Regions from separate parts of the Homo sapiens genome. Here regions 1, 3 and 4 are each linked to region 2. The links are contacts of gene promoters, found by promoter capture Hi-C in blood cells and fetal thymus (Javierre and others, 2016). All regions are on one chromosome and are shown on one strand. Each heading gives the region's core, a stretch centred on a gene start or on the middle of the fragment in contact. The rest is flanking DNA. Distances are from core to core; before and after follow the strand shown. Region 1 overlaps AGTPBP1 (ATP/GTP binding carboxypeptidase 1). Region 2 holds the start of QNG1 (Q-nucleotide N-glycosylase 1). Region 3 overlaps AGTPBP1 (ATP/GTP binding carboxypeptidase 1). Region 4 overlaps AGTPBP1 (ATP/GTP binding carboxypeptidase 1).

The links. The method cuts DNA at HindIII sites, captures the fragments that hold promoters and counts their contacts. A CHiCAGO score of 5 or more calls a contact.
Region 1: a fragment that was not itself captured here is called in contact with the fragment with the promoter of QNG1 in region 2 in 2 of 17 cell types (non-activated CD4 T cells and neutrophils); the score reaches 6.3 in non-activated CD4 T cells.
Region 3: a contact is called between a fragment that was not itself captured here and the fragment with the promoter of QNG1 in region 2, in 5 of 17 cell types (total B cells, naive B cells, total CD8 T cells and 2 more). The highest score is 7.4, in total B cells.
Region 4: a contact is called between a fragment that was not itself captured here and the fragment with the promoter of QNG1 in region 2, in 2 of 17 cell types (monocytes and total CD4 T cells). The highest score is 6.9, in monocytes.

Annotation. Positions count from the first base shown.
Region 1 is chr9:85,667,250-85,675,016 of GRCh38, reverse strand. AGTPBP1 (ATP/GTP binding carboxypeptidase 1) reads left to right here. Exons shown (of 26, transcript NM_001330701.2): 7 at 2,336-2,467; 8 at 5,439-5,532. Among named protein-coding and RNA genes, the nearest start is that of AGTPBP1, 71 kb to the left of the region's middle. The HindIII fragment of the contact is 5,380 bases long and covers 3,492-7,767 here.
Region 2 is chr9:83,953,783-83,961,064 of GRCh38, reverse strand. It overlaps QNG1 (Q-nucleotide N-glycosylase 1), which reads left to right and starts at 4,323. Exons shown (of 4, transcript NM_032307.5): 1 at 4,323-4,901; 2 at 5,425-5,684. The coding sequence starts at 4,565. The HindIII fragment of the contact is 8,080 bases long and covers 1,365-7,282 here.
Region 3 is chr9:85,605,015-85,612,709 of GRCh38, reverse strand. All of the region lies in intron 17 of AGTPBP1 (ATP/GTP binding carboxypeptidase 1), which reads left to right. Among named protein-coding and RNA genes, the nearest start is that of AGTPBP1, 130 kb to the left of the region's middle. The HindIII fragment of the contact is 2,033 bases long and covers 454-2,486 here.
Region 4 is chr9:85,647,518-85,655,042 of GRCh38, reverse strand. The region is part of intron 11 of AGTPBP1 (ATP/GTP binding carboxypeptidase 1); the gene reads left to right. Among named protein-coding and RNA genes, the nearest start is that of AGTPBP1, 91 kb to the left of the region's middle. The HindIII fragment of the contact is 842 bases long and covers 4,046-4,887 here.

The DNA of each region.
Region 1 (7,767 bases), core at 4,932-7,431, 1.7 Mb before region 2:
GCTGAGGCAGGAGAATTGCTTGAACCTGGGTGGTGGAGGTTGCAGTGAGCCGAGATCGTACCACTGCACTCCAGCTTGGGTGACAGAGCGAGACTCTGTCTCAAAAAGAAAAAAAAGAGTTTTGCCTTTGCCTGTGGCATACATGTGAGTTTTAAACTTTGAGTATTTGGCTAAAATGCTTATTGGAAAAAATGAGGATGCGTGTGTACATAGTTTGTGTATTTATTAACATACGTATTTCTAGCATATCTTTATGTATTGTATAAGTAATTAGTAGTTTTTATAGGTGTTGTTTTAAAGAAAGGAACCCTGAAGTGACTTTAATTTTCCAGGTATATTAGGAGCCTTAAGACTTAAAGATGTATTTAGTTTATTTAAGGAATATGTTAGCTGTCTCTTATTTTTCTTTAGCTCTTGTATTTAAGATTTAAAGACTCCCTTTTGAGATTTTTGTGGAAAATGAAAATGAAAAAATAAGAAAACCATAATTTGGCAGAAAATTCATTTAAAAAAAACCCCTTATTTATTGATGAGTATTGTTATGCTTTCTCTTCTAATTAGAACTAGGTTATCTTCTACTTTTCATGAAATTAAGATATTGATTTTAAAAATATTTATCATTCTTTAATATCCCTTTTAAGTTTTAGGTCATATTTATTTTCTCTTATATATTCTTTTAAATTTGGGCTATTTCCTTTATGGTTTGCCCTAGTTTCCCATTTTTATGTCATTCAAGGACATTATATGGTAATTTCTTGAGTGATTTTTCTATTCTTTTTATTTTTCTAGTGAGGTAAAATAATTTTTCCTCAGGAATATTGAGTTATTTTGATTTAAAATTATTTGTTTGCTGGTCCTATTTACTTTGTTTAAGTCTTTTTTTTTTTTTTTTTTAAGATGGAGTCTTGCTCAGTTGCCCAGGCTGGAGTGCAGTGGTACGATCTCGGCTCACTGCAAGCTCCTCCTCCTGGGTTCATGCCATTCTCCTGCCTCAGCCTCCAGAGTAGTTGGGACTGCAGGCGCCCGCCACCACGCCTGGCTAATTTTTTTTTGTATTTTTAATAGAGACGGGGTTTCACCATGTTAGCCAGGATGGTCTGGATCTTCTGACCTCATGATCCACCCACCTCAGCCTCCCAAAGTGCTGGGATTACAGGCGTGAGCCACCGCGCCCTGCCTTAAGTCTTTTTTAAAATTCATTTTTATTTGTAGTTTTATATAGTGGAGTACAAGTGCAGATTTCTTACATGTAGTATTGTATAGTGGGGAAGTCTGGGCATTTAATATACCCATTACCTGAATAGTGAACATTGTAGCTAACAGGTAATTTTTCAACCTTCACCCCTCACCCACCCTGCCACTTTTTGTATCTCCAATGTCTACTATAAATCTTAACATTCTTAAGTTCTTCTTATTTAAAATTTTTTTTACTGTTTTAATCTCTTCATGAGAATAAAAATTAAGAACATCTTTTCTTCCCTTCCTGTGTTAAGAATTATTTCCCTTTAGAAATTTATTTGGTAATATTTGCCAGATTATTTTCTACATAAGCTGTTAATTTTTTAAATGAATTTTTATTTTTTTACAAGTCAGAAAAGAATATGGTTCATATTAAGTATTATTGTAATGGACATTTGGATTTTGTTCCTTTTAACTCTGTGTTGGTGTTCTGGGAAGTGTGTTGAACTAGACAAATGTATATGTGTAGTGGAGCAGTTCAGTTTTTTTTAATGACAGTCTAAGTGTTGGGCTACTCTAGCCTCCATCCTCCTTCCCTATCCCCCTGTCTGTTTCTTAGTACATTCTTTCAACTAATGTTTTAAAATAAAAGGGATGTTTTATTTTAAAAATAATACAAAAAAGGATTATAATTTTATTCTTTTCAGGCCAACTTTATATTTCATAAAATTAATTCATAATGTAAATTTAAAATTTACATCACTGATTTATAATATCATCATTTCATTCAAAACTTACATGTGGGCCAGGCACAGTGACTCACACGTGTAATCTCAGCACTTTGGGAGGCCAAGGCGGGCAGATCACTTGAGGTCAGGAGTTTCAGACCAGCCTGGCCAACATGGCGAAAGCCCGTCTCCACTAAAAATCCAAAAATTAACCCAGTGTGGTGGTGGGTGCCTGTAATCCCAGCTACTCAGGAGGCAGAGGCAGGAGAATTGCTTCAACCTGGGAGCCAGAGGTTGCAGTGAGCTGAGATGGAGCCACTGCACTCCAGCCTGGATGACAGAGCAAGACTCTGTCTCAAAAAAAAAAAAAAAAAAAATTAAAAAGAAAAGTTGTATGTGCATAAATTGTCTTTTTTTTTTTTAAACAGATAAAAAATTTGGAGTAAAGGCTAGAATTAATGGGGCTCTGAATATAACCCTGAATTTGGTCAAGCAGAATTTGCAGAATCATCGCTTGGTTCTACCTTGCCTTCAGCTTTTACGAGTATATTCTGCCAACTGTGAGTATTTAGGTGGCTTTTAGTTAACTCAGTGTTGTAAAGTTACACAAAAAGAATTTTAAAGTATCCTGATTCTGTAAACCTCTGATATTTGTGAAAAAGGAAAGAGAAGATTTAATATGGCTCATTTTAACTCTTGACTCCAACCACAACAAAAGTGATGTGGGGTAAGGTTAAGTTGGTCTGTGCATGGTGGCTCATGCCTGTAATCCCAGCACTTTGGGAGGCCAAGGCGGGCGGATCACCTGAGGTCAGGAGTTTGAGACCAGCCTGACCGACATGGGGAAACTCTGTCTCTAATAAAAATACAAAAATTAGCTGGGCATGGTGGTGGGCGCCTAATCCTGACTATTTGGGAGGCTGAGGTAGGAGAATCATTTGAACCTGGGAAGTGGAGGTTGCAATGAGCTGAGATTGTGCCATTGCACTCCAGCCTGGGTGATAGAGCAAGACTCCGTCTCAACCAAAAAAAAAAAAGGTTAAGTTGGTAAAACCTTGAACATTCTAACTAATTTCTCCAATTTATAAAGGATAGGAGTGAGGAGGATGACTAGGCAGCCTGTAGAAAAGATGTGGAAGAATATGAGGGTATTGGTAGCTGGAAAAACTCCTGTGCCTCTTTAGACTGTCACAGATGAGAGGAGAAAGCCTAGAAGGAAAGGATGCAGTAGCATAGTCACCTGGAGCTAATTCTCTTCAGCAATCAATAGGGAAGTAGCAGAACTGAAAATAACTAGTATGGGAACCTCTGAGAAGCTAGAGAGAAGAGGGCTCACAGAGAGACAGACTCAGATAAAATGTCTCCCAAAACACACACTCTCACTAACACGAGGTTCCACGCATGAGGTGTGGATTTTTTTTTCTATTCTCTGATTGCAGAATTGAAGTGGTTAATGAAAGAACCTAAGATTGAATTGCAGAATATATGTTATTGCAGAATATCATTGCAAAATAATGATAGAGTGCTAGATATGTGTGTATATTGCGTATATACATATATGTAATATATAAACATACATAAGCTTATGTATATGTCTCTGTGTGTGTATATCAGTACCTTTAAAATATGGCTAAAGGTGTGCTCTGTGGAAAACAGCTTAGAACACTTAAATAACTAACATGTAATTAAAAAGAACATAAGGAAACAAATGAATTAGATATCTAACCAATGAAGTTAAGAACAGAGAAATAAACACCAGTAAAGTCAAGAAATGAAATAGTAAAGGTAAAAGGAAAAATATGCATTAGAAAATAGAAAAGCAGTTGATTTAAAAAATAAAACTGTATTGGATTAAAAATAAAATACACTGGTACAGTCGCACATGGCTGTAATCCCAGCACTTCAGAGGCTAGGCAGAAGGACCGCTTGAGGCCAGGAGTTTGCAACCAGCCTGGGCAACATAGTGAGATGCCATTTCTACAAAAAAAAAAAAGGAAAAAATTGGCTAGTTGTGGTGATGTGTGCCTGCAGTCTCAGCTACTCAGGAAGCTAAGGTGGGAGGATTTCTTGAGCCCAGGAGGTTAAGGCTGCAGTGAGCCATGACTGCACCACTGCATTCCAGCTTGGGCAACACAGCAGGACCCTGTCTCAAAAACAACAACAATGCAACAAAAACCCCCAAATGTAAAAATAAAACAGCTAAACCACCAAATACTTCAATCAAGGTCAAAGGAATACAGTATAGACATGAAATTAGAAGGGATAACGGAGTAATAAACAGAGAAAATTAAGATCATCCTACGAAATATTAGGAGCTACATTTTTGGTGGCATTTTATTGGATTAACCAATAGAAGGCTAGCAGATGGCTTATCTATAATTTAAAAATTGTTTATTAAACGATTTTCTTTTAGAGACAGGGTCTTGCTATACATCTCAGGCTGGCTTTGAACTCCTGGCCTTAAGCGATCCTCCTGCTTCAGCCTCCCAAGCAGCTAAGACTACAGGCACATGCCATTGTCCCTGGTTCTACAATATATTTAATAACATCTGTTCAGAATTAAAAATGTTTAGCACAGTTTTCTGGTTAGGTAATTATTTGTATATTCCATATTAAATACTGAAATTGTTCCATCTTTTTCCCTGCTACACTTGCTTTAATTAAAGTCCTCATTACCTGTTACCTAGACCATAGCCTCCTAATGTGTCTTTCAAAACCAGCTTCCTCAGAGTTCTTTGAATTCTGACCTATTTATTTAAAATTCACATCTGATATGTTCCTTTTGCGTGATTCCCCATAGTCAAAAGAATTAACAACTTCTAGGGCCCTTCATAATTTCTCATCTTTTTCTACCTCATCTTCCTATTTGTGTATCTTTTCTTGATACTCTGTGTTTAACATTATGTAACTGCTCACATTGTGATGTTCATTGTCTTCGTTCTGTTTGTATTATTCCTGTGTCCAGAGCCACATCTACCCCTTTACCTCTACTCCTGCCCTAACTACTACTCACTTTTAAAGACTGAGCCTAGGCATCATTTTCTCCAGAAATGTCTGTCTCACTCTGAATTAGGAACTTCTCAATGGTGTAATCCAAATAGTCTACAACTCTTGATCTATTTTGAAAGTAATTTAGTAATTATTTGTTTATTGTTTCTGTCATTCTCTCTACACTTTGTTCTTTGAGGTCAGAGATTTTATTCTTGTTTCGGAATCCCCATAACCTGGTGTTCAGTGAGGTTCACTAAATTTATTAGAGAAATATAGAGTAACTGAAGAATTTTTTTTATAATAGTGGTTTTTTTTTTTTTTTGCATATAACTCGTTTCAGAATTTCCCTGCACTTTCCATAACAAAGCAAAAACAAAAAACACTATTTCTTCATGTGGTTAGCTTAGATGGACTTTAAGGTGACTTGAGTTGACATTTACTAAACAATTTGTATATGTTTTTGCCTATGTATCACTAAGTATACACATTTTTGGTTGTCAAACCTTAAAATAATTTTGCATCTCTTTCTCCCCCTCTCAGCTGTGAATTCAGTATCCTTAGGGAAAAATGGAGTTGTGGAACTGATGTTTAAAATCATTGGACCATTTAGTAAGAAGAATTCCAGTCTTATAAAGTGAGTAAATGTTTTGAATGTAAACATAGGTATAGCCTTTGTTACTCTGGGCCTCATTATCTTGATATGTACAATGAGCAGGTTGAATTAAATTGTCTCCAGGGTTATTTCATTTCTTAGTTCTTAAATAATGATTTTATCATGATAAAGATTTTCTTTAGTATAAAATTTAATCTTCACAAATATCTCAAAATTGGACAGTTTTGACTTCATTGAATATAATGTTTATAGTAACTTAGACTGAACATTTCTAGATACTGTAAAAGGAAAAAAGATTATCTATAGAGTATTCATTCAGAAACATTTATTGAGTGCCTACTATATTTCTCACCCAATTTTACAATCTTGTAATGACTTTTTCATTCTTATGAATACCTGAACAATCTTAAATTGATACATTTCTATTTTGTCAAAATCACATCATTCTTTTTCCCCCATCCTGAGATGTGTGTGTGTGTGTGTGTGTGTGTATGTATACACACACACACACACACACACACACACACACACACACACATGTATGTATGTATGTATTTTTATTCATTCCTAGGCCTTTCAGCCTCAGAAAATGAAAGCCATGTCTCATTTATTGGTTACAGTTTAATATTTTCTTAAGCCATTTTAGAGGTCTTTCTTTAAAATTTTTTTTTATTGTGGAATTTTTAAAACATACATAAAATAGAGTTTATATTAAACTGATTATATTGAGTTATATTAATTACTTGTTGTGTTTAACAATTCTGAACATTCCACCATTTTTGTTTCATTTGTTTCCACTCCACACTTTTGTTTGTTTGTTTTTCCTGGGGTACTTTTAAGAAATCTCAGGTATTTTATATATACATAAATGTGTGTGTATTTCTATAAGCAGATCCTAGATATTTTCTCTTGGATTATTTTCTTTGAATACTATCATTTATTTTCTAAATACCTCAGTATATAATTCTACTAAATAAGGACTTAAAAATAACCAGAATACTACAATCATAGCCAACAAAATTATTAATTTCTTTTTTTTTTTTGAAATGGAGTCTCTCTCTGTTGCCTAGGCTGGAGTGCAGTGGCATGATCATGGCACACTGTAGCCTCAAATTCCTAGGCTCAAGTGATGCTCCCACCTCTCCCTCCTGATACTTACTTAATACAATCTAAAATCTGGTCTGTTGTTTGATTTTCTCCAGTTGTCTCAAAATAGCCCCTTTTTAGTTGGTTTGTTTGAATCAGAATCCAAACAAGATGCATACATTATTCTTCATTATATTTAGGAAATTTCCAAGCCTACACAAATGTAGAGAGGATAATATAATGAACTCTGATGTACCTGTTACCCAGTTGTACTATCAAAAATCTGTCATTTTAATTTTATTTTTCTTTCTGTTTTTCTTTTTTCCTAGCGTATTTTAAAGCAGATATCAGCCATTATATTTGAGCTGTAAATTCTTTAATATGATCACTGTCAATTACAGATCTTTTCTCTTTTAGTGTTACCGCAGTTGTCTTTTCTGTGCCCAACAATATTAACGGTAATTTCTTAATATCTGATATTTTCTGATTAGGAAATGCTTTTTTTTTTTTTTTTTTACAGTTGGCTTGCTTGTTCAGGGCTTCAATTAAGTCTATACATTATATTTGATTGATATGTCTCATAATCTTTTGAAATAAAAAAAAGTTTCCCTGTTTTTTGGTTTTGTTTTATTTGTTGAAGGTCTTCAGTGATAGGTCTTTTAAAATGTCACACGTTCTGGCTTACAATGACTATATCCTGAAGTTATTTAACATATGAGTATATCCCTTACATTTTCTGTAGACTGATAAAACTGTGGCTTGATTAGATTTGGGGTTCTGGTTTGTTTTTTCTGGTCAAAAATATTTCATAGGTGGAGCTGGCAACTTTGTTTTATGTCACTTAAGATAATTGAGTTGAGGTTATCTACCCATTAGAAATGTCCCCATCCACTTTTCACTTAGTGATTTAGCAGTCATTCATGACACTGCCTGTATCTGTTATTTCATTAGTGGTTGGAAAATAATAACTTATCTAGTTTTATTTTTTTCCTGTGTTTATTAGCTGTGAATCTTTTGTAATGAAGAACTTGTCCACATGAACTATTTGATTTGACTTTACTCTTAAATAGGGTTCAGGACATTTCCAGTGTTTTCACCCTTTCTTAATAAGGGTCAAATATTTTAAAATATTTTCTGAGCTTACTTGCACATATGACTATTTATTAAATA
Region 2 (7,282 bases), core at 3,074-5,573:
CTAGATAATTTTTTTTATTGTTTTTTGTACAGACAGGGTCTCACTATGTTGTTGAGGTTGGTCTCAAACCCCTGAGCTCAAATGATCAGCCCGCCTCGGCCTCCCAAAGTGCTGGGATTACAGGCATGAGCCACCACACCTGGCCGACCCTCCATTTCTTTAATGCTATAGCCTATCATAGAAAATAGAAGATATAGCAATAATCATTCCCAAGAGCTTGACATGTAATTTAGCTAATCAAAAATGATGACTCTCTTGATGACTGGAATAATCTAACTTGGATACTGTTCAAGGGGGGGAAAGTTATATGGACACATCATTGATCATGTCTTCCTCCTTTGTTAACCTTTAAAATGCAAGCTTAGAGGTTATTTAGAGGTCATCACTATCTCTTCAAAAGCCTACCCCTGCAAGGCATAGTAGCTCACGCCTGTAATCCCAGCACTTTGTGAGGCCGAGGCAGGCGGATTACTTGAGCCCAGGAGTTCGAAGCCAACCTGGGCAACACAGCAGACCCCATCTCTACAAAAAAATTAAAAATTAGCTGGGTGCAATGGTACATGCCTGTAGTCCCAGCTACTCAGGAGGATCACTTGAGCTGGGGAGGTCAAGGCTGCAGTGAGCTATGACTGCACCACTGCACTCCAGTCTGTGTGACAGAGTAAGACCCTGTTTCAAATAAATAAATAAAGCCTATGCCTACAGGGTACAGCTTCTGCCAAAGATTTATCTATCTCTATCAGGAGATAGAGACCATCCTGGCTAACATCGTGAAACCCCCGTCTCTACTAAAAAAATACAAAATATTAGCCGGGCATGGTGGCGGGAGCCTGTAATCCCAGCTACTCGGGAGGCTGAGGCAGGAGAGAATGGCCTGAACCCGGGAGGCGGAGGTTGCAGTGAGTGGAGATCGCGCCATTGCACTCCAGCCTAGGCGACAGAGCGAGACTCCGTCTCAAAAAAAAAAAAAAAAACCAAAGTCGGGTGTGGTGGCTCATGCCTGTAATCCCAGCACTTTGGGAGGCCGAGGTGGGCAGATCATGAGGTCAGGAGATCGAGACCATCCTGGCTAACCGGGCATGGTGGCGGCTGATAGAACCGGGGCGGGGGGGCGGCGGGGGGCTGAGGCAGGAGAATGGCGTGAACCCGGGAGGCGGAGCTTGCAGTGAGCCGAGATCGGGCCACTGCACTCTAGCCTGGGCGACAGAGCGAGACTCCATCTCAAACAAAACAAAACCAAAAAACAAACTCAGGTTGCCATCAAAAGGACTGCAGCAATTCCAGGCCTTACATTCAAGGTCAATCAGGTCCAGAGGGAGCCTGAATCACTTCTGAAAATTCTCCTGGAAGAGTGAGGAAAAGCTTTTCTGCAAGCATTCTGCAAATCTTGCAACTCACTGAGGTGAACTGGGAAATATGCATAAACCTAATCCAGTTGCTGGCAAGAGGGTGATATTACCAGTCCTGACTACCCTTGAGTCTGAGGATGCTAAACTAAGCTACAAGGGAGTGCAGTTGAGAGATGGATTCCTAAACAGTATCACAGTATCTATTGGGAAGGAAAAAGCAGGAAAACCATGTTCAGTAGGTGAAGAACTCACTTTTTTTTTTTTTTTTTTTGAGACAGTGGGTTGCCCAGATTGGAGTGCGGTGGTGCCATTTCAGCTCACTGCAACCTCCGCCTCCCAGGCTCAAGGGATCCTCCCACCTCAGCCTCTGGGAGTAGCTGGGACTACAGGCTCCAGCCACCTGGCTAATGTTTTCTTTTTCTTTTTTTTTTTTTGTAGAGACAGGGTTTTGTCATGTTGCCCAGGATGGTCTCGAATTCCTGGGCTCAAGTGATCCTTGGCCTGCTAAAGTGCTGGGATTACAGGCCTGAGTCACCACGGCCAGCCCAACTCATTTTTGTATTCTCAGCATCTTGTAGACACACTTAAAAAAACAAAAACAAAAATCCCAGACACACACAGTTTTGATTTATCTCAAAGTTGAGTGAAGGAGGCATGTTTTATTCTTGTGTATACTACTTTTAGTGCTTAAATACCTTGAACATAGGCAGGAATTTGACTTTTTGGGTGGGAGGGGGAACGGGGGGGGGTCTCACTTTTTCTCACAGTCTGGAGTGCAGTGGCACAATCTCACCTCACTGGAATCTCTCTGCCTCCTGGGCTCAGACGATCCTCCCACCTCAGCCTCCCTAGTAGCTGGGACCACTGGCGCATGCCACCACACCCACCTAATTTTTTGTGTTTTGGGTAGAGACAGGGTTTCCCCATGTTGCTCAGGCTGGCCTCGAACTCATGCACTCAACTGATCCACCCACCTTGGCCTCCCAAAAAGCTGGGATTACAGGCGTGAGTCACCACATCTGGCCGGCATTTGACTTTTTTCTATCAATAAACCTCAGTGAGAGAAAAGGGTCTAAGTTATTTACCCTTCTGGATTATTTTGCAGATTGCTAGATTTCCTTGCTAAATCAATTTGTCTCCCAAGACTTAGGTGCTGTGGTAGAAAGGAAAAATCCCAAGCCAACAGACTTACATTTCCTTAACAACTGTATTAATGTACTAGTGACTTTTTCTGGAAAACGTATCATAGTGGAGTCCTTAAAGTTCCTTTTTCTTACCAAAATGAAGAAACTGGAGTGATGAAGATCTGCTTTTCTAGGGTAACAGCTGTCAAATTTAAAAGCTCCATTTGGGGCCAGGTGTGGTGGCTCATGCCTGTAATCCCAGCATTTTGGGAGGCCAAGACAGGCGGATCACCTGAGGTCAGGAGTTCGAGATCAGCCTGGCCAACATGGTGAAAACCTGTCCCTACTAAAAATACAAAACTTAGCCGGGCGTGGTGGCGGGCACCTATAATCCCAGCTACTCGGGAGGCTAAGCCAGGAGAATTGCTTGAACCCAGGAGGCGGAGGTTGCAGTGAGCCGAGACTGTGCCACTGCATTCCAGCCTGGATGACAGAGTGAGACTCCGTCTCAAAAAAAAAGCTCCATTTGGGAGGCCGAGGAGGGTGGATTACCTGAGGTCAGGAGTTTGAGACCAGCCTGGCCCACATAGGGAAACCCCATCTCTACTAAAAATACAAAAATTAGTCAGGTGTGGTGGCTGACACCTATAATCCCAGCTACTTGGGAAGCTGAGGCAGGGAGAATCACTTGAACCGGGGAGGTGGAGGTTGCAGTGAGCTGAGATCATGCCACTGCACTCCAGCCTGGGCGACAGGGTGAGATTCTGTCTCAAACAAACAAATTTAAAAGCTCCGAATCCTCCAAAAATACCAAGATTTTCCTGTCGGTAACTAGAGATGGGTACTGATGATTATTTTTAATAGGTGATTTTCAAAGATGTGAACGTTATCCATGGAGATTTAAGTCTCCAAAAGGAAAAAAAATGCATACCTTTATACTAAAACTTCATCACCAGTCAAATTTGGATCATCACTAAATTGGCTTCTACACCTCTCTCCTAATATAAGGTACTTGTGTAAGTTTGCAGTTGTGAGACACTTATTTCCTCATTTTTAATGTCTTCTCAGTAGGGCCACTGATATAGTCACTATTTGACTGACCAGAATGGTTGGCACTGGTGATTGGCTCATAAAGTGCCCTCGATTTAGGGGGCTCAATTATCAAAGGTTTAAATCCTAGCCCAAACCATTGCTGTGATGGGGGTTAATCAATGAACCACTCAGCTTCACTTGCAAAAGCGGGATCACAATAGCCGCTTTCGTCATGACCCAGCCTAGGTGAGATTTAGTACTTAAGTACACTGCCAGGCACACAAGGTTAATTTAACAATTTAACACATTTGTTTCCTCATCCATTTCTCCAAACCTTCCAACTAATCCTAACGTTCGTTCGGCCAAATGGGCCAGGAATTCACTTAAACAAAAACAAAAAACAAAACAAACAAAAAAACACTCCCTGGGGCTTGGGGAAGGAGGCACCGCCGCCCATGTCGCAGTCTGGGGGTGGCTCAGTCCTCAGCACCCAGATCTACGGCCATAATGCTCTTCGAGGCCAAGGAGCCCGGATGCGGGGCGTTGCCGAAGGCGTCTTGCTCAGGCTGCGGGAAAGGAGAGGGGTGGGAGCGGGGTGGGGGCATCGCGACCCAGGGCAAGGCGGCGAGTCGCCGTCTTCGAGTCCCACCTGTCCGAAGCGGGGTGAGAAAAGGCAAAACATGGCAAAGCCATGCACCTCCCAGGGTGGGCAACTCACGGCCGGTGAACGCCGGACCCTTAGCAGTTTCCAGACCTTTGGAACCGGAAGCGGAGCCTGAGAGCGCGCCCGAGAGGGCGTGAACGGGACCGCTTTCCCGGAAGTGCTTGCGGCCTCTGCCCAGCGAGCTGCCCCGGGGTCTCTCTGGTTTCCTAATCAGGGCAACGCCGCGGGAGAGAACCTTTACCTTGGCTGCACTAAGTTCTCGGTGCCACTCCCTGGCAGGGCGGGACCTTGTTTAGGCCCTGTGATCGCGCGGTTCGTAGTAGCGCAAGGCGCAGAGTGGACCTTGACCCGCCTAGGGCGGGAAGAGTTTGGCCCGCCGGGTCCCAAAGGGCAGAATGGACGGGCTCCTAAATCCCAGGGAATCCTCTAAATTCATTGCAGAAAACAGTCGGGATGTGTTTATTGACAGCGGAGGCGTACGGAGGGTGGCAGAGCTGCTGCTGGCCAAGGCGGCGGGGCCAGAGCTGCGCGTGGAGGGGTGGAAAGCCCTTCATGAGCTGAACCCCAGGGCGGCCGACGAGGCCGCGGTCAACTGGGTGTTCGTGACAGACACGCTCAACTTCTCCTTTTGGTCGGAGCAGGACGAGCACAAGTGTGTGGTGAGGTACAGAGGGAAAACATACAGTGGGTACTGGTCCCTGTGCGCCGCCGTCAACAGAGCCCTCGACGAAGGTTGGTGCCATACTTGCCATCGGACCTAACGGCCTTTGAGGTTTCCATTTACTTGGGGTGTGTGTAGGGGAGTTCCAAGGAGCGGGTTGGGAGATGGAATAATGGAAAGCGAACCTGAAGTTCGTTGCAAGTCCTTATGCTTAAAATAGAAGTATGAAAAGGGGCATATTTTAGTGGAAAATGATGTTAATATTTATCATTGCAGCATAAAAGTTACAGTAGCATAAAAGTCAGTTTTATAAAGAATGCCATTTGAATGACACCTGAAGAACAAAAGGACCGATGTTATAAAGCAATTTACTCAGAATACATCTGATGTAATATTGCAATAGTTAGAAATGGGTGAATAAGTACAGATGAACAAGTAGAAAATGAGTTTTGCTTTAGATTTTTTATTCTTCCACTTTTGGTGCATTCCTATACCACTCATTTGGTTTCATATTAATTCCATGTTGTAAAAGCAAGGGTTTAATGCATATGGAAGTATGACATTGGTCCTCTGAATTTTATTTTTTCACTAAAGGGATACCAATAACTAGTGCCTCGTACTACGCGACAGTGACCCTGGATCAGGTTCGGAATATACTTCGTTCTGACACAGACGTTTCCATGCCTTTAGTAGAAGAGAGGCATCGGATTCTCAATGAAACCGGGAAAATTCTGCTGGAGAAGTTTGGAGGCTCTTTTCTCAACTGCGTCCGAGAAAGTGAGAATAGTGCGCAGAAGTTAATGCACCTGGTGGTTGAAAGTTTTCCTTCTTACAGAGATGTGACTCTGTTTGAGGTGAGTTGCTTCTGTTGGGGATTTTAGAAGTCTTAATCATCTCAGAGTTAACTCTTTTACTTCCAGAACTCATTTTAAGAATAAAAACTTAAATTTTTAAATGTATTCCTTGTGGAAGAAACTAACAAAATCAAGTAGTGTTTCAAAGTCATTTCTTATGTTTTCTTTTGTTTGTTTGTTTGAGACAGAGTTTTGCTCTTGTTGCGCAGGCTGGAGTGCAGTGGCGTGATCTTGGCTCACCGCAACCTCTGCCTCCCGGGTTCAAGCGATTCTCCTGCCTCAGCCTCCCGAGTAGCTTGGATTACAGGGATGCGCCACCAAGCCCGGCTAATTTTATGTATTTTTAGTAGAGACGGGGTTTCACTATGTTGGCCAGGCTGGTCTCAAACTCCCGACCTCAGGTAATCTGGTCGCCTCAGCCTCCCAAAGTGTTGTGATTACAGGCGTGAACCACCACGCTGGCGTCATTTCTTTCCTTTTTTTTTTTTTTTTTTTTTTTTTGAGATGGACTCTTACTCTGTCACCCAGGCTAGAGTGCAGTGGCGCGATCTTGGCTCACTGCAAACTCCGCCTCCCGGGTTCAGGTGATTCACCTGCCTCAGTCTCCCGACTAGCTGGGATTACAGGTGCCCGCCACTGCGCTAGGCTAATTTTTGTATTTTTAGTAGAGACGGGGTTTCACCATGTTGGCCAGGCTGGTCTTGAATTCCTGACCTCGTGATCCACCCACCTCGGTCTCCCAAAGTGCTGGGATTACAGGCGTGAGCCACTGTGCCGGGCCTTTTTTTTTTCTTTCCCTGAGATGGAGTCTTGCTCTGACTCCCAGGCTGGAGTGCAGTGGCACTATCTCAGCTCACTGCAACCTCCGCCTCCCGGGTTCAAGCGATTCTCCTGCCTTTGCCTCCTGAGTAGCTGGGACTACAGGCGCATGCCACCACACCTGGCTAAGTTTTTTTGTATTTTTAGTAGAGATGGAGTTTCATCTCATTTCTTATGTTTTCTAATCAATATTTCATTCTTTACTTCCTTTTTTTTCCTTTTAAAATGTTTCAAACCTAAAAAACATGGAACCCTCCATGTAATGTTCTCCTTATGGAAAATTAAGTATTTTTAGTACTTCAAGAAGGTTACTTTATTGGTTGAAGATCAGAATGTATACTAACCTCTCCCTAATAAAAAGTATTTCTGGCCAGACTCGGTGGCTCACTCCTGTAATCCCAGCACTTTGGGAGGCCTAGGTAGGTGGATCAACTGAGGTCAGGAGCTCAAGACCAGCCTAGCAACATGGTGAAACCCCATCTCTACTAAAAATACAAAAATTAGCTGGGTATGGTTGCACGCACCTGTAGTCCCAGCTACTTAGGAGGCTGAGGCAGGAGAATCGCTTGAACCCGAGAGGTGGAGGCTGCAGTGAGCCGAGATTGCACCACTGCACTCCAGCCTAGACGAGACAGAATTAGACTCTATCTCAAAAAAGTATTTCTTGAAAAGTTCAGTGTACTGTATATATATTTTGTGTTTTCTTTTTCATACACAGTGTACTTGAACAAATGATGATCATTTTGTTGGACCCTCACAGGCTGCACCCGGATTTTGTT
Region 3 (7,695 bases), core at 221-2,720, 1.7 Mb before region 2:
AAGGACTCAGTCTCCCACGACTGCCCCTCACTACAGATGCCAGTCAAAAGTAGTGGGTCCCCAGGTTACCATACTTCTCTCTGACTTGGTTACAAACAGGGGGTCCCATAACCCTCCTCACTTTGATAATTTGCTATGGCAGCTCACAGGACTCAGGGAAACACTGAATTACGATTCACAGTTCATTATAAAGGATAGATTTAAGGATTCAGATGAACAGCCCGATGAACAGGTAGGTCCAGAAGGGTCCTGGGTACAGGAGCTTTTTTCCCCATGGAGTTGGAGTGCCCCACCCTTCTGGCATGTGGATGCATTCATCACTTGGAAGCTCTCTGAATCCCGTGTTTTGGAGATTTTTATGGAGGCTTCATCACATCGATATGATTATTAACTCAGTTTACATCTCCTTTCCTTTCCCTTGAGGATGGAGTTTGGGGCTGAAAGTTCCAAGCTTCTTATCATGACTTGGTCTTTTTGGTGACCAATCCCCATCAAAGAGTACACCAAGAGCTGCCTCATTAGAATAGAAGTTGTTTCTATCACCAGGAAGTTCTAAGAGATTTAGAAGCTCTTTGTCAGGGAGTGGGGTCAAAGACCAAATATTAGAACAAAAGATGTTTCTGGCACCTCCATTGCTTGGGAAATGACAAGGGTTTTAGGAGCTCTGAGCCAGGAACTGGGGGGTAGAGACCAATATATATAGAGAGAGATTTCTTATTATTTCATATTTGGCTGGGCATGGTGGCTTATGCCTGTAATCCCAGCACTTTGGGAGGCTGAGGTGGGTAGATCACAAGGTCAGGAGTTCGAGACCAGCCTGACCAACATGGTGAAACCCCATCTCTACTAAAAATACAAAAAATTAACCAGGCTTGGTGGCACACACCTGTAATCCCAGCTGCTCAGGAGGCTGAGGCAGGGGAATAGCTTGAACTCGGGAGGTGGAGGTTGCAGTGAGCTGAGACTGTGCTATTGCACTCCAGCCTGGGTGACATAGTGAGACTCTGTCCCCCAAAAATATATTGTTTCATATTTAATATTATACATCTATTCAACTTTCTATATCCTTGTTTATTTTTTGTCTTCTCTATCTACCTAAGACTTAAAAATACTTAATAGTCTTTCAATTATGTTGTGTTTCTGTCAAGCCTTCATTTAAAAACTTTTTTTTTCTATTTTAATACAATGTTACTTGGCACACAGAATTTTGTAAGTTTTCCATTTTCCTTTTGCATATCTCTTTAATAGTATAAAATTATCACATTTATCTCATTCAGCATCTTTTGCCTTGAATTCTGTTTTTATATTGGTTTGAATTTGCTTGATGTATGTTTGCTTTTTTTTTCATAAATAAGAGGTTGGATTTTGTTGTTTGATCATTTGTCTTTTAATAGAGGAGTTTAACCTGTTTAAAATTCTTACAATTGATGTGTTTGGGTTTTTATGCTTTCTATTTTTGTACTTCTTTATTGTTTTCTTTATTTTTTATTTAGTGTGACACTTATTTTAGCTGTGGAATCCAAAATGTAAAATGCAAAAAAAAAAAAAAAAAAAGAAAAGCCCCTAAACCACAAGATACAGATCACGAGGCATATTCTGCATTGGATTTTTCAGTCTTGCTCCATCTGCCTTAAGTTTAATAGAGATTCCTTCCAGATTCTGATGATAAGTTGTCTATTGTGAGTTTTCTTCTTATTTCCATGTATTTGTAAGTATTTAACTAGGAAGTTAGTAGAAGCTATGGGAGCTGTTTAGGTAGATGTAATATTTTATTAAACTTATCTTTAGATTTGTTAGGTCAGTACAACATAAAGCAAATCTTGGTTTGTCTTAACATTAACAGAATTAAAAGAAAGGGACCAATATTTTGGTAAACTAGAATTTAACATTGTAAGCAATTATAACTAGCAATAATTCATTTTAAGGGTGGGGGCTGATGACCAAAGAAAGTATGTGCAGTGGAAACTTCTTCATCTGGAGGTATTTATTTAATTGTCAGACATGATTGAAATGAGGAAGTAGTATCAGTTAGGAGAGTAGCTTATTGTCTGTAATTTTTTTTTTGATTGGGGCGTGCCGGTTGGGGTACTATTTAAGTGTTGGATTCTAGAAAATGTGCCCAATAGAGGTCTTGTTCTTTGGCAGTGTCCCCAAAAAGGAACAGGCTGGCAGTTGCTTCTCTTTCAAGTTGTCCTTTTCTTTGAGCTTTTTAAAAGTGATTCTATTGAATACTTAGTGGTTTTCACAAGTGAATGATCTTAAAATTAAGCAGTTTAAAAATATTTATGTTTCACACTGTATTTTCAATTGTAAAGAGAATACTGCCTTTGAAATACTGAATTTGAGAATGTGTGTCACTAAATAGTGCTGTGTCTGTTTCAATCCATCACCCCCTCTTACCCCCCCATTACTTGGAAGGGATTTGCTGAAATTACCACCAGATGGCAGTCTTGCATTTTAGTGACTTGGAGCTTCAGTACCAAGCTTCTCTTTCACTTTCTCTCCATCTTTGTTTCTCTCAGATTTCTGAGGATTTTCAACTGCCTTCTTACATAAATTGAACATGTTTGGAACCAGGCAATAAAGTACAATTTTGGAGTCTAGTCTGTAGCATTCTCACCGCTTTGCCCACGTTAGTTAATTCAAGTCTCCTCTGCCTCCCTAGAATGGATTAGTCCCCCTGACAAATGTTCCTCATACATTTTTGCCTTTTGGGGTGCTCTTTACAGTTTAATATTATTTAGGTGTGTGGCTTTCCTACATTTCCTTCTTCTCTTTGTAATTAGTGTTATACATTGAGGTACTTTGAGACTATCTAAATATCTTGTTCCTTCTCAAGCTTTTAATGTATTATCAGTATAGACTGGGTTTCCTATTTGACTCAATGAGTTATAATTTGTTGCTATCATTATTTATTTTGATATTCAAATTGTCCAGGATTTGGCCAGTGGGATACCATTAATGCTGGTGTGTGTGCCCTTTTGAGATATCCCTGTCATTCCTTATGGGTGCCCTTGCTTTTTGGCACAAGGCCCATCTTGCTTTTCTCTACCCCTGAATGAAATCTGCCATTTCTTCAAAGAGTGCCATTTTACTTTAGTAGTGAATGATGTTTAAAAACCAAGATCTGGCCGGGCGCGGTGGCTCACGTCTGTAATCCCAGCACTTTGGGAGGCCAAGGCAGGCGGATCACCAGGTCAGGAGTTTGAGACTAGCCTGGTCAACATGGTGAAACCCCGTCTCTACTAAAAATACAAAAATGAGCCTGGCACCTGCATGTAATCCCAGCTACCTGGGAGGCTGAGGCAGGAGAATCGCTTGAACCTGGGAGGTGGAGGTTGCAGTGAGCCAAGATCATGCCATTGCACTCCAGCCTGGGCAACAAGAGCGAAACTCCATCTCAAAAAAAAAAAAAAAAAGATCTGTACACTTGGTATACACATTGCTATTGGGTTATTACTGTTTACAAACTATCTCAATGAACAATTAGGGAGTATATTTAATACATACATAATATTTACACAGTAATTCACATTTGTAGTGGTTTCCATATTTGTAGGTACATATTTATGTATGTGTGTATATAATCACACAAACACACATACACTCCATGAGATTATACTTATACCTTAACTTTCGAGCAAATAACACAGGCTTTATTCTTGTTTTCTTTCCATATTTACAACTTTCTTCTCCAACAGAGATAATTTTGGGCCCCACTGTCCGTAATATATTAACTTGTTTGATCAATTCCAGTTTATGTAATAATCTCCCTGTTGTCTATTTGGACAGATGCCTTCCTCCACCCTATTGAGGGTCTGATATCCCAAATTATTCTTCCTTCCATCCTCCTGCGTGGGTTCCCTCCCTGTTTGTTTTTTTCATTTTGTTTGTAATTTCTAGTTTTAGTACACTGTGACCAGAGTTTGTAATATTTCTGTTTTGTGAAATTTGGTGTTGTTTTCCCTGTGATGTAATATATTATCAGTTTTTGTGAATGTATTGTGCTATTGAGAAGATATATTACTTATATCATCTTATATTATATCTTAATATATTATCATCAAATTCCAAGCAAAGAAGATATCTTTGCTTAAAATTTGCTGATAATATATTGTCATATATATTATCAATTTTTATGAATGTATCATGTGCTGTTGAGAAGAAGATAATAAAGAATATATCTTCTTCACATAAGAAGATATATTTTTCATCTGTATCAGGATGAGACATTTGACATTTAGATGTAAAAATTGCCACATTGATTATGTCATTTGGTTCTCTATATTTTGTTTTCTTGTTCAATTGTTCTATCTTATTCTGAGAGTGGTGTTTTGAAGACTATATCAATAGTATGTCCCTGTCGATTTCTGCTTATATCTTCTGTAGTTTCTGCCTTATGTAGGAGGTTGATCTTATCAGATGCATTGATATTAAGTATTATTATATTTTCATTATGAATTGTGACTTTGTCATTATAAAATTCCTCCTTTTTCTCATTAAATATTTTTTATTCTAAAATCTACTTTAAAGATTTCAACCCCAATTCTGTTGTTCCATCCTCTATATCTTTGCTCATTTTACTATTTATAAACAATTTAAAGTTTGTTATATTCTGTCTTCTAGTAATGCTGAAGGCCTGGGTCATGTGTGGTTTTATATGTGCTACTTATTGAATTTATTTATTTCTTCTTTGGTTGGGATGAAAAATCAAATTCTGAGACTGGAGGATAATGGCAGCCACCTGAATCTGAATCTGAAATCGCAGCTGTAATACTAGACGTGTTAGAAGCATGTATTTTTTTCTACGTAGAGTCATTGGGTGTAAATAACATGCAGCTTACGATAGATGCCTTCAGGTTTATTAGAGCTCCACTTTAAACTTTTCTTGTTCTCCTCATCTGTTAAATGAGGGTGTTAACATCAACTCCAACATTTTACAAATCTGTGATTTATAGTACATTAATGATTATGACCTAAAACACCTCATCTTTCTTTGTATTTGCACATAATATTAACCATGTTCTCAATAAAACTTTGGCCTTTACTTGGATATTATTAGGGGCTAGTGCCATTGGCACTCTGGCAATTTAATATTTTGATTATCTATATTTGAGGCAAAAAATTTACAGTTTTAAGCACACTTGTTTTACATACATGAAGGTTTATCCTTTCACTAATGAATAAATCTTGCTCAGATATAGGCTTTCCATACTATATCAGGTTGAATAGACTGGTTTATTGAGTCTGAGTTTACCTCATTTGATTGATTCTTGCTGGGGCAACTTACTTTGTCCAAATGGTTTTTGTTACAGTCAGAATATCCAAATATAGCTAACTTCACTGTGACCAGCATTTAATATGATTGTTTTAAATGTGATATGAGAATACATTGTTTTAAATGTAATGTAATAATAATTGTTTTTTATAACATTAGAACACATGAGACAAATCTAAAGTGCTATTTGACCTTAACTTGAACCTTTCACTACTTTATATAGTTAACTTTTAAAAATTGATACATAATATTTGCACATATTTATGGGGTATATGTGATATTTTGTTACATGTATAGAATGTGTCACAATCAAGTCAGGGTATTTAGGATATCCATCACCTTGATGATTTATCATTTCTGTATGTTAGGAATATTTTAAGTCCTCTCATCTAGCCATTTTGAAATATACAATATATTGTTACTGATAGTCACCCAACTCTGCTATAGAACATTAAAACATTTCTTTTCTTGAACTATATATTTACACTCATTAACCAACCTCTCTTCACCCCCCTTATCCCTCCCACACACCCTTCTCAGCTTTTGTATCTATTATTTTAATTTCTACTTCCATGAGATCAACTTTTTTACCTACCACATATGAGTGAGAACATGCAATATTTGTCTTTCTATGCCTGGTTTATTTCACTTGACATAAAGACTTCCAATTCCATCCATGTTGCTGCAAAGGACATGATTTCATTTTTTATGGCCACATTGTATTTCATTGTGTATATATATCATTTTCTATATTCATTCATCCATTGATGGATGCTGAGGTTGATTCATATCTTTGCTATTGTGAATAGTGCTACAATAAACATGGGGTGGGTGTAGGTATCCTTTCAGTATACTGATTTCCTTTACTTCGGATAAATACCCAGTAGTGGGATTGCTGGATCTTATGTTGTTTTATTTTTAGTTTTTTGAGAAATTTCTGTACTGTTTTCCATAGTGACTACACTAATTTACGTTCCCACCAACAGTATGTAAGAGTTCTCTTTTCTCCACATCCTCACTAACATCTTTTTTTTTTTTTCTCTTTTTAATAATTGCCATTTTAACTGGGGTAAGATGGTATCTCATTGTAGTTTGATTTGCATTTCCCTGATGATTAGTGATGTTGAACATTTTTTCATATGCCTGTTGGCCATTTGTATATCTTCTTTTTGAGAAATATCTATGTCCTTTGCCTACTTTTTAATGAGATTATTATGATTATTTTTTACTATTGAGTTGTTTGAGTTCCTTGTATATTTTGGATACTAATCCCTTGTCAGATAAATAGATTGTAAATATTTTCTCCCATTCGACAGGTTGTTTCTTCACCCTGTTGATTGTTTCCTTTTATTGGAGAGTTTGGTCAAGTTACATTCATTGTTATTGATAGGTAAGGACTTACTCCTGCCATTTTGTTGTTTTCCAATTGTTTTGTGGTCCTCTCTTCTTTCCCTCTTTCTTTCCTATCTTCCCTTTTGTGAAGGTGATTTTCTCAGGTGATATTTTTTAATTTCTTTTTTTATTTTCTGTGTATCTGTTGTAGGTTTTTTGAGATTACTGTGAGGCTTGCAGATAACATCTTGTAACCCATTATTTTAAACTGATGACAACATGGATTGTAAAAACAAACATTAACAAACAAGTAAAAAGGAAACTAATAAAAACTCTATACTTTAATTTGATCCCTCCTCACTTTTTGACTTTTTGTTGTTTCTATTTATATCTTATTATTCTATGCCTTGAAAAGTTTTATCATTATTTTTGATAGGTTCATCTTTTTGTCTTTCTACTCAACATATGAGTAGTTTACTCACCACGATTACAGTATTATAATATTCTGTGTATTTCTGTGTAGTTATTATTACGATTGAATTTTGTACTTTCTGATGATTTCTTATTGTTCATTAATGTCCTTTTCTTTCAGAATGAACTCCCTTTAGCATCTCTTGTAGGACAAGTATTTGATGTTGATGAATTCCCTCAGCTTTTTTTTGTCTGGGGAAGTCTTTATTTCTCCTTCATGTTTGAAGGATATTTTCAATGGATGTACTTACTATTCTAGGATCAAAGGCTTTTTTCCTTCAGTGCTTTAAATATGGCATGCCACTTTCTCCTGACCTGTAAGGTTTCTACTGAGAAGTCTGCTACCAGATATATTGGAGTTCCTTTGCATGTTATTTGTTTCTTTTCTCTTGCTGCTTTTAGGATCCTTTCTTTATCCTTGACCTTTAGGAGTTTGATTATTAAATGGCTGGAAGTAGTCTTGGGGTTAAATCTGCGTGGTGTTCTATAGCCTTCTTGTACTTGAATGTTGATATCTTTCTCTAGGTTTGGAAAGTTCTCTGGTATTATCCCTTTGAATAAACTTTTTACCTTATCTCTTCCTCTATCTCCTCTTTAAGGCCAATAACTCTTAA
Region 4 (7,525 bases), core at 3,217-5,716, 1.7 Mb before region 2:
CTTACTTAACGTGATAAACATTCACATTTTATTTTAGTTAAGCATTTCTTTAAATGTAAGAAATTGGAGGCTAATAATTAAGTGAAATGGTGTGGGATGTGTTGTATATATGCAAATGTGAATTGTGAAATAATTAAGCTTCACATAGGAATATTATTTGATAGCTTATGTACTTTTTTTTTGTTTTAATTTTTTTTTTTGAGACAGAGTCTTGCTCTGTTGCCCAGGGTGGAGTGCAGTGGTGCAATCTCGGCTCACTGCAACCTCTGCCTCCCGTGTTCAAGCAATTCTCCTGCCTCAGCCTCCTGAGTAGCCAGGATCACAGGCCTGTGCCACCATTCCCGGGTAATTTTTGTATTTTTAGTAGAGATGGGTTTTCGCCATGTTGGCCAGTCTGTTCTCAAACTCCTGACCTCAAGTGATCTGCCTGCCTCGGCCTCCCAAAGTGCTGGGATTACAGGTGTGAGCCACCACACCCGGCCCAACTTATGTATGTTTTTAAAGTGTAAAAATATAAACATTAAATGTCTAGGTAAATTATGTTCGGGTTTACATTTGTAGCTTTTCAGTGATTTTTTTTCTTAAGTTAAAAAAAAACAACCTAATCACCAAAATTACTATGGTTTTATGCTTAACAAAAACTTTCACATGACTTACTTGGATGAAAATATGAAATTATCTGAGGTAGGCTGTTTGTCATTTTCCATATAATACTGTAGGTATACAGTAGAGGAAGTAAGAGTTTATTTATATGGGGAAGAAGAATTTCTTTGACAACATCTACCAAAGTGAAAAAGAGAAAGTAGTCCTGGCTTTTAATAGAATTTCTATAGTATTTTCTTATCAGTTTATTACTTTTTTGAGAAAAAAAACGAAGATTCTTTATTTATATGTAAAATTCTTATTTGAAACAAGTGTTTTAAGAGAATTTTCAAGGAATTATATTAGTTTCATTATCCTTGATATAAATTTATTAATGGTATATGTCATAGGGTACACTATTATGATTTTATTTTTAAAATATGTAGTTATTAAAACAAGTTGACACAACATATCAAAATGGATTATTTAGAAACCTCCTTTAAAATGTTGAAAAGTCTAAGACTAAGTCTAGGACTTATGAGTAAGAAAGCTAAGTAAAAGCAGTGGTCCAATACCCTTTTCCCATTCCATTTGAAATTACCGACAGACTTTTACAGGAGAAAATCTGTACCAAATCTGAAAACTGGGTAAGAGGGGCATGGAACAAATACAGAACATTCAAGAGATGTGGTGGAGCTGTGAGTAAATGCAGGAGCAGCATCAAGCCTCCACTCCCTCTTCTAGGAATGCATTATCTTCTGCTAAAGTTGAGGTGCCATTAGCACCAGTTTGGAGGGACAATCAGGAAGCAGTTGGAATCCCTTTCTTTCCTACATCAACATAGGATTATGGGGGTTAAATGGTGGTTCTCACTGGTGGAAAGCTGGTGAGTCTTCCCTGTGCTGCGGCCAGTAGTAACACCAGGAAGGAGGTGGGATAGGCCCCAGCAAGTTCTTTATTTAGTGTCTGGATTGACGGATAGAGAAAGCCGACCTCTAGTGCAGTAAATTCACCAAACACGGGAACAAACAAGAAATTATATTTTTCTTTTAGTTCCTTTGATGCCTGCTTCTCAGACCAATGAGTCACTGGACTAGAAATGCATATTTACATTGACTGACAAGCCTTCCTGATTCAGATGGGAGAGGAGGGTTCTAATAGCAAGTGTATAGATACTAGGAAAATACTCTCATTCTGTTTTCCATTATTCCTTCCTCCTCCTCCTCCTTCCTCCCCCCATGTTTCCCAGGCTGGTCTCGAACTCCTGAGTTCAAGAGATCCCCCCCACCTCAGCCTCCCAAGTAGCTGGGACTACATGCCCTTGCCTCTGCTTTGTTTTCCATTATTTTCTCACATGTCAGGCTTCATTATATGTTTCACAGTCTTTATTATTATTTACCTTCCTCAGCTAGAATGTGAGTCCACAAGGATAGGTCTGAACTCTTTTACTCACAGCATTTCTGACCCCCAAATATGTGTCTTTTGTCCTCATACCAACCAATTCTCCATATCTCCAGACACTAGCTGGGTGTTCTGCAATTCAGTTCAATTCTGACACTGAAGACCTGGAGTTAATACAGACCCCACAGGTTAAGGGTTTAGTCCCACAGGACTGCTACCACTTCAGATAACAATTACAAGTCTGGACTACCTGTATGTCTGACCTACTGGCAATAAAGTTGATGGGGGTGGGGGTTTCCACAACCTGTTCCTGAAGTTTGATAATTTGCTAGAATGGCTCACAGAACTCAGGAACACTCTACTTATGGTTATGGGTTTATTATAAAGGATACAATTTGAGAGCTGCTAAATGGAAGCGATGCATAGAGCCAGGTATAAGAGAAGGGGTGTGGGGCTTCCATGCCCTCTCTAGGTATGCCACCCTCCCAGCACCATGATGTGTTCACCAACTCAGAAACTCTGAGTGGTGTGTTGTTTTTTTCTTTTTTTGAGATGAAGTCTCACTCTGTCTTCAGGCTGGAGTGCAGTGGTGCGATCTCAGCTCACTGCAGCGTCCGCTTCCTGGGTTCAAGCAATTCTCCTGTCTCAGCCACCCAAGTAGCTGGGACTACAGGTGTGCACCACCACGCCCAGCTAATTTTTATGTATTTTTTAGTAGAGACGGGGTTTCACCATGTTGGCTAGGATGGTCTCGATCTCTTGACCTTGTGATCCGCCTGCCTCAGCCTCCCAAAGTGCTAGGATTACAGGCGTGAGCCACTGCACCCGGCCAAAACTCTGAGCTTTTATACCATTGTTTAGGGTTTTTATGGAGGTTCCATTATGTAGGTGTGATTGCTTAATTATAAGGCTATTTTTGATAAAATCAGTCCCCAGCTCCTCTCTCCCCAGAGGTTGAGGAGTGGGGCTGAAGTTCCAACTGTCTGATCATGCCTTGATCTTTCTAGTGACCAGCCTCTATCCTGAAGTTATCAAGGGGCCCACAAAGAGTCACATCATTAGAACAAAAGATGCTCCTCTACCTAGGAAATTCCAAGGGATTTAGCAGCTGTGTGCCAGGAACCTGGGACAAAGATCAAATATATATCACAATAGGACTGTTGTTGTTTTCATTTTGTCTTCAGCATCCATTAGATTGTGTGGGACATAATAAGTGCATTTAATGTTTGTTGAATAAATGAATCGAGCTGGCCTTGATACTTATTCTTCTGAATGTTAAATGCTGCATCTATGGAGATTTGAAGGAAAGGGTTCTGACTCAAGACTTCTGGACCTTTATTAGTTGTCACCATATGTGAAGGTGACATATTCTTAGGTATGTTTGGGTACAGAAGTATATTATCCAGGTATTCCCTTCCTGAAGTAATTATGTGAAATATTACTCCAGCCAGTCAGATGATGAATTAGAGATGTCAAGAATGTAGACGTTACCTAAGAGTATTTGTATTAAACATTATAATCTGTTAACTATATAATACTAAATAGTTGTTATAGTATTATTATGAAACATGTTAGCTAATTATTGGCAAAAGATACATAATACAGTTATTATAAAGTGGGTATTTACATAAATGAGCTAAAATTTATATTGATAGATTTCCTAATATTATACTGTTCTTGCATTTCTAAAATGAAAATTATACAAATAATCCAAATGTATATTCGCCAAATGTAAAGGTAACATCTGGAACAGAGATCCTTAAACAGGAGTCCATTGACCCATAGAAATACATGGGTGGCCTTTGGAGACTATGGACACTTTGAAAATTGATATAAAATTATAGGGGTCCATCATTGCTGTGTAAAAGCAAGGAAATTTCAAAGATGCACAATATCCTGAGAGCACTAAAGGCTAAGCAAGGACAAGCAGATCAGTTTCAGTAATAAGTCTAAATGGATGAAATACTCCTGTTGAAGGAAAGAGACTCCCAGATTGGGTTAAAAAACAAAATCCGACTAGCTGGTACATATGAAGTCTCTTAAGACAGCAGGATAGAAAGCTTGAAAGTAAACAGATTAGCAAATATGTATGTGTTATTCCTTAGCCCAGAAGAGGTGAGAAGGAAAGTATTATTGTTAAACAAAACACGAATACAGAATAAAAAATGATTAAAACAAGGCAGTGAAGATTATTTTATGCAAGCTAGATAACACATGTGCCAAATACTAAAAGTCGACAAAACTATAATCATTTGAATAACAGAAAGACATTGGTAGAAACAGTGTTGGTGGTTGATTTTAATATACCTCTACATTCTTGGCAAAGTAAATAGGGGTGGTTAAATCAGTCTAAGTAGATGTTAAAGGCAACTCCTGCGAATGCATTTGAATACAGACTTGACCCTAAAACAACTTGGGGATTAGCAGTATCGACTCTGTGCAGTTGAAAATCTGCATAGAACTTTTGACTCCTCCAAAACATAACTACTAGTAACCTGTTGACCAGAAACCTTACTGATAACATAAACAGTTAATACATATTTTTTATGTTACGTGTATTCTGTACAACAAAGTAAGCTAGACAAAAGAAAATGTTATTTGAAAAGTCATAAGGAAGAGAAAACATATTTACTGTTCATTAAGTGGAGGTGGTTTTCATAAAGGTTTACATCCTTGTTGTCTACACATTGAATAGACTGAGGAGGAGGAGGGGCAGGAGGGGTTTTGCTATCTGAGGAGTGACAGAGGCAGAAGAAAATCTGTGTATTAACGAACCTGCACAGTTCAAACTTACATTTTTCAAGGGTCACTGTGTGATTGGAATGGACAATATTTTAGGAAAATATGAATAACTAATATTGACTTAAATAGTAAAAAATTTGAAATTGAATATGCAATCAAGCTTCTTTAGTGAAGACACCAAATGGTGATGACTTCATAGATTAGTTCTCCCAAACTTTCAAGAAATTGTCCTACACTTTATTTTCCAGAGCAAGAAAAAAAAAAAAAAAAAAAAAGGAAAGTTTAGAAGCTAGCATGATGCTGAAAACACAATCTGGTAAGATTAATCTGAAACAACCTACAGATCACTGTCACTCATGAAAATAAATATAAAAATCCTAAAGTATTAGCAAATTTAGTTGAGCAGTATTGTTTACGTTTAGGACACCTTGACCAAGTAAAGATGATTTTTAAGAAAGTAAGTTTATTGTAATATTAAGACTTTAATTAGTAAAATATATTATCAGTAGATCAAAGGGACAAAACCAAATGATCATCTCAGTAAATGCCATGACAAGATTTCATAAAAATCATATCAGTGTAGAAAAATTTTTAAGGAACACAGGAATATTTCCTGAACAAGCTAAGTATTATCTAGCTCAAATCAATAGCCAACATCATAAATAGTAATGAAATGTTAGAGGATGCCTCTCTCAACCATTATTATTTACCGTAGTTTTGAAAACTCTAGCTAAATCAGTAAGATAGGGAAAAGAAAGGTCTTAACCGTTAAAAGAGTGAGATAAATTTATCAGTATCTGTGGAGGATATTACTGTCTATATAGAAAATCCAAGCAAATCAATTGTAAAAAAGTGGCTTACGCAAAGGAACAGTAAAGTACTATTTACAAGAAAAATGAATAAAATTAAATAGCCTTCCTCTACGTGTGTATATGTGTATCAACAAAAAACACATAGAAAACATAAAGGGAAAGTAGATCACATTTATAGGCACAATAGCAACAACAAAATAAACTTCCCGTGATGTACTTTCCCAGTCCTTATAGAATGTGCAGACTCTTTCCTTCTAATGACTACATCATACAGTTGTAGTATAATTTATCTAACTAGTGTCCTACTGATAGACATTTAAGTTGTTTCCTATATTTCTGTTTTTACTATAAGCCAAGGACATTTTGAAAATCAGTAAGAATTTTGGTTTATATTCCCTGGTTTTAATTTGATTGGCTATAATAATTAATATTGTTAATTATTGGTACTGGTATAATGAATGGATCTTTGAAATAGCAGAGAAGGTCTCAGACGCTCTTAAGCTACATGGCATTTCACATCTGGAGTATAAACCCTAAGGAAAACATCCTACAAAGGAAAATATTTGAAAGGTTTGACTAAAAATTGAAAACATATTTTCTCTCTGATGCTGAACTGCATTTTCTCCTCTCCCTTTCTTTCCAAGCAGTCATTTTTCCTACTTGCAATAGGATTTTCTTTCTTTCTCTTTTTTTTGAGACGGAGTCTCGCACTGTTGCCCAGGCTGGAGTGCAGTGGCGCGATCTCAGCTCACTGCAAGCTCCACCTCCCGGGTTCACGCCATTCTCCTGCCTCAGCCTCCCGAGTAGCTGGGACTACACGTGCCCGCCACCACGCCCAGCTAATTTTTTGTACTTTTAGTAGAGACGGGGTTTCACTGTGTTAGCCAGGATGGTCTCGATCTCCTGACCTCGTGATCCGCCCGTCTCGGCCTCCCAGAATGCTGGGATTACAGGTGTGAACCACCGCGCCTTAATTCAATCCCTTTCTTTTTTCCTAGGAGTTATTTTCTTCCTTCTCTTCTTCCAAATGTCAGTTCTTCCCTTGTTTATCCATGACCAACTGCCGTTAGGGCATAAGTATAAATCAACCCAGGTTACCATGTGAAATATGAATATTTATTTTTTGCTATCTAAGAATTTGAGGTGATTTGTTTTTATATTTGTACCTGTATTAGTTAGGGTCGACTAAACTGCTGTTACAAAGAGACCCAGTAGCACAGTCCCTCAAGCAACAGCAGTAATAAACATTTGTGTAACACATACTCTGCCTGGCACTTTACGTATATTAACTTCTCTAATGCCCACAGAAACACTATGAGTAGATATCTCCATTTTATAGACAAAGAAACGAAGACAAAGAATTGATGTAACTTGCTCAAGGTCAAATAGCTAGTAAGTTCGGGAGCTAGGATTTGAATTCAGGTATTCTGTTTCTAGAACCCCTGTGCTATCCTGCTACAACATGGAATTTTTTTCTTTTCCTGTTTGTTGGTCACCTTCCACCCGTATGCTGTCTCTCTCACCTCTTAAAATTGAATTAAGCCATTCTTGTCTTGAAAATTCTCAGTGCCTATCTTCTTTATATTAAAAGTCAGTACTACTTGGCCTACTATGTTACATCCTTCATTTTTTAATTCTTTATTTTCCTTTCAGTACTTTCATAAGCATACTCTTCATCCTAGTCATACCTTTTGTTATTTTCTAAAGATATCATTTCACTTCCTTATTTTAGTAGTATTATTTCCTCTTCTTAGAAGCCACACTCACCCACCATTACATTCACATAGAAATCTGTTATACTTTCTACAAGATACTGCTTAAATATCACCTATTCTGTGAAGTGGTCAGCATCAAGCCCCTTGTCTCCAAGCAGTTTACAATTAGTTGTTGCATTTCTCGTTTTCCCATAGCATTTTGGAGTTTATGGCTTCATTAGCATTTATCTTTGGTATTATAATTACGTGTTTACTCCTTTCTGCTCTTTGACC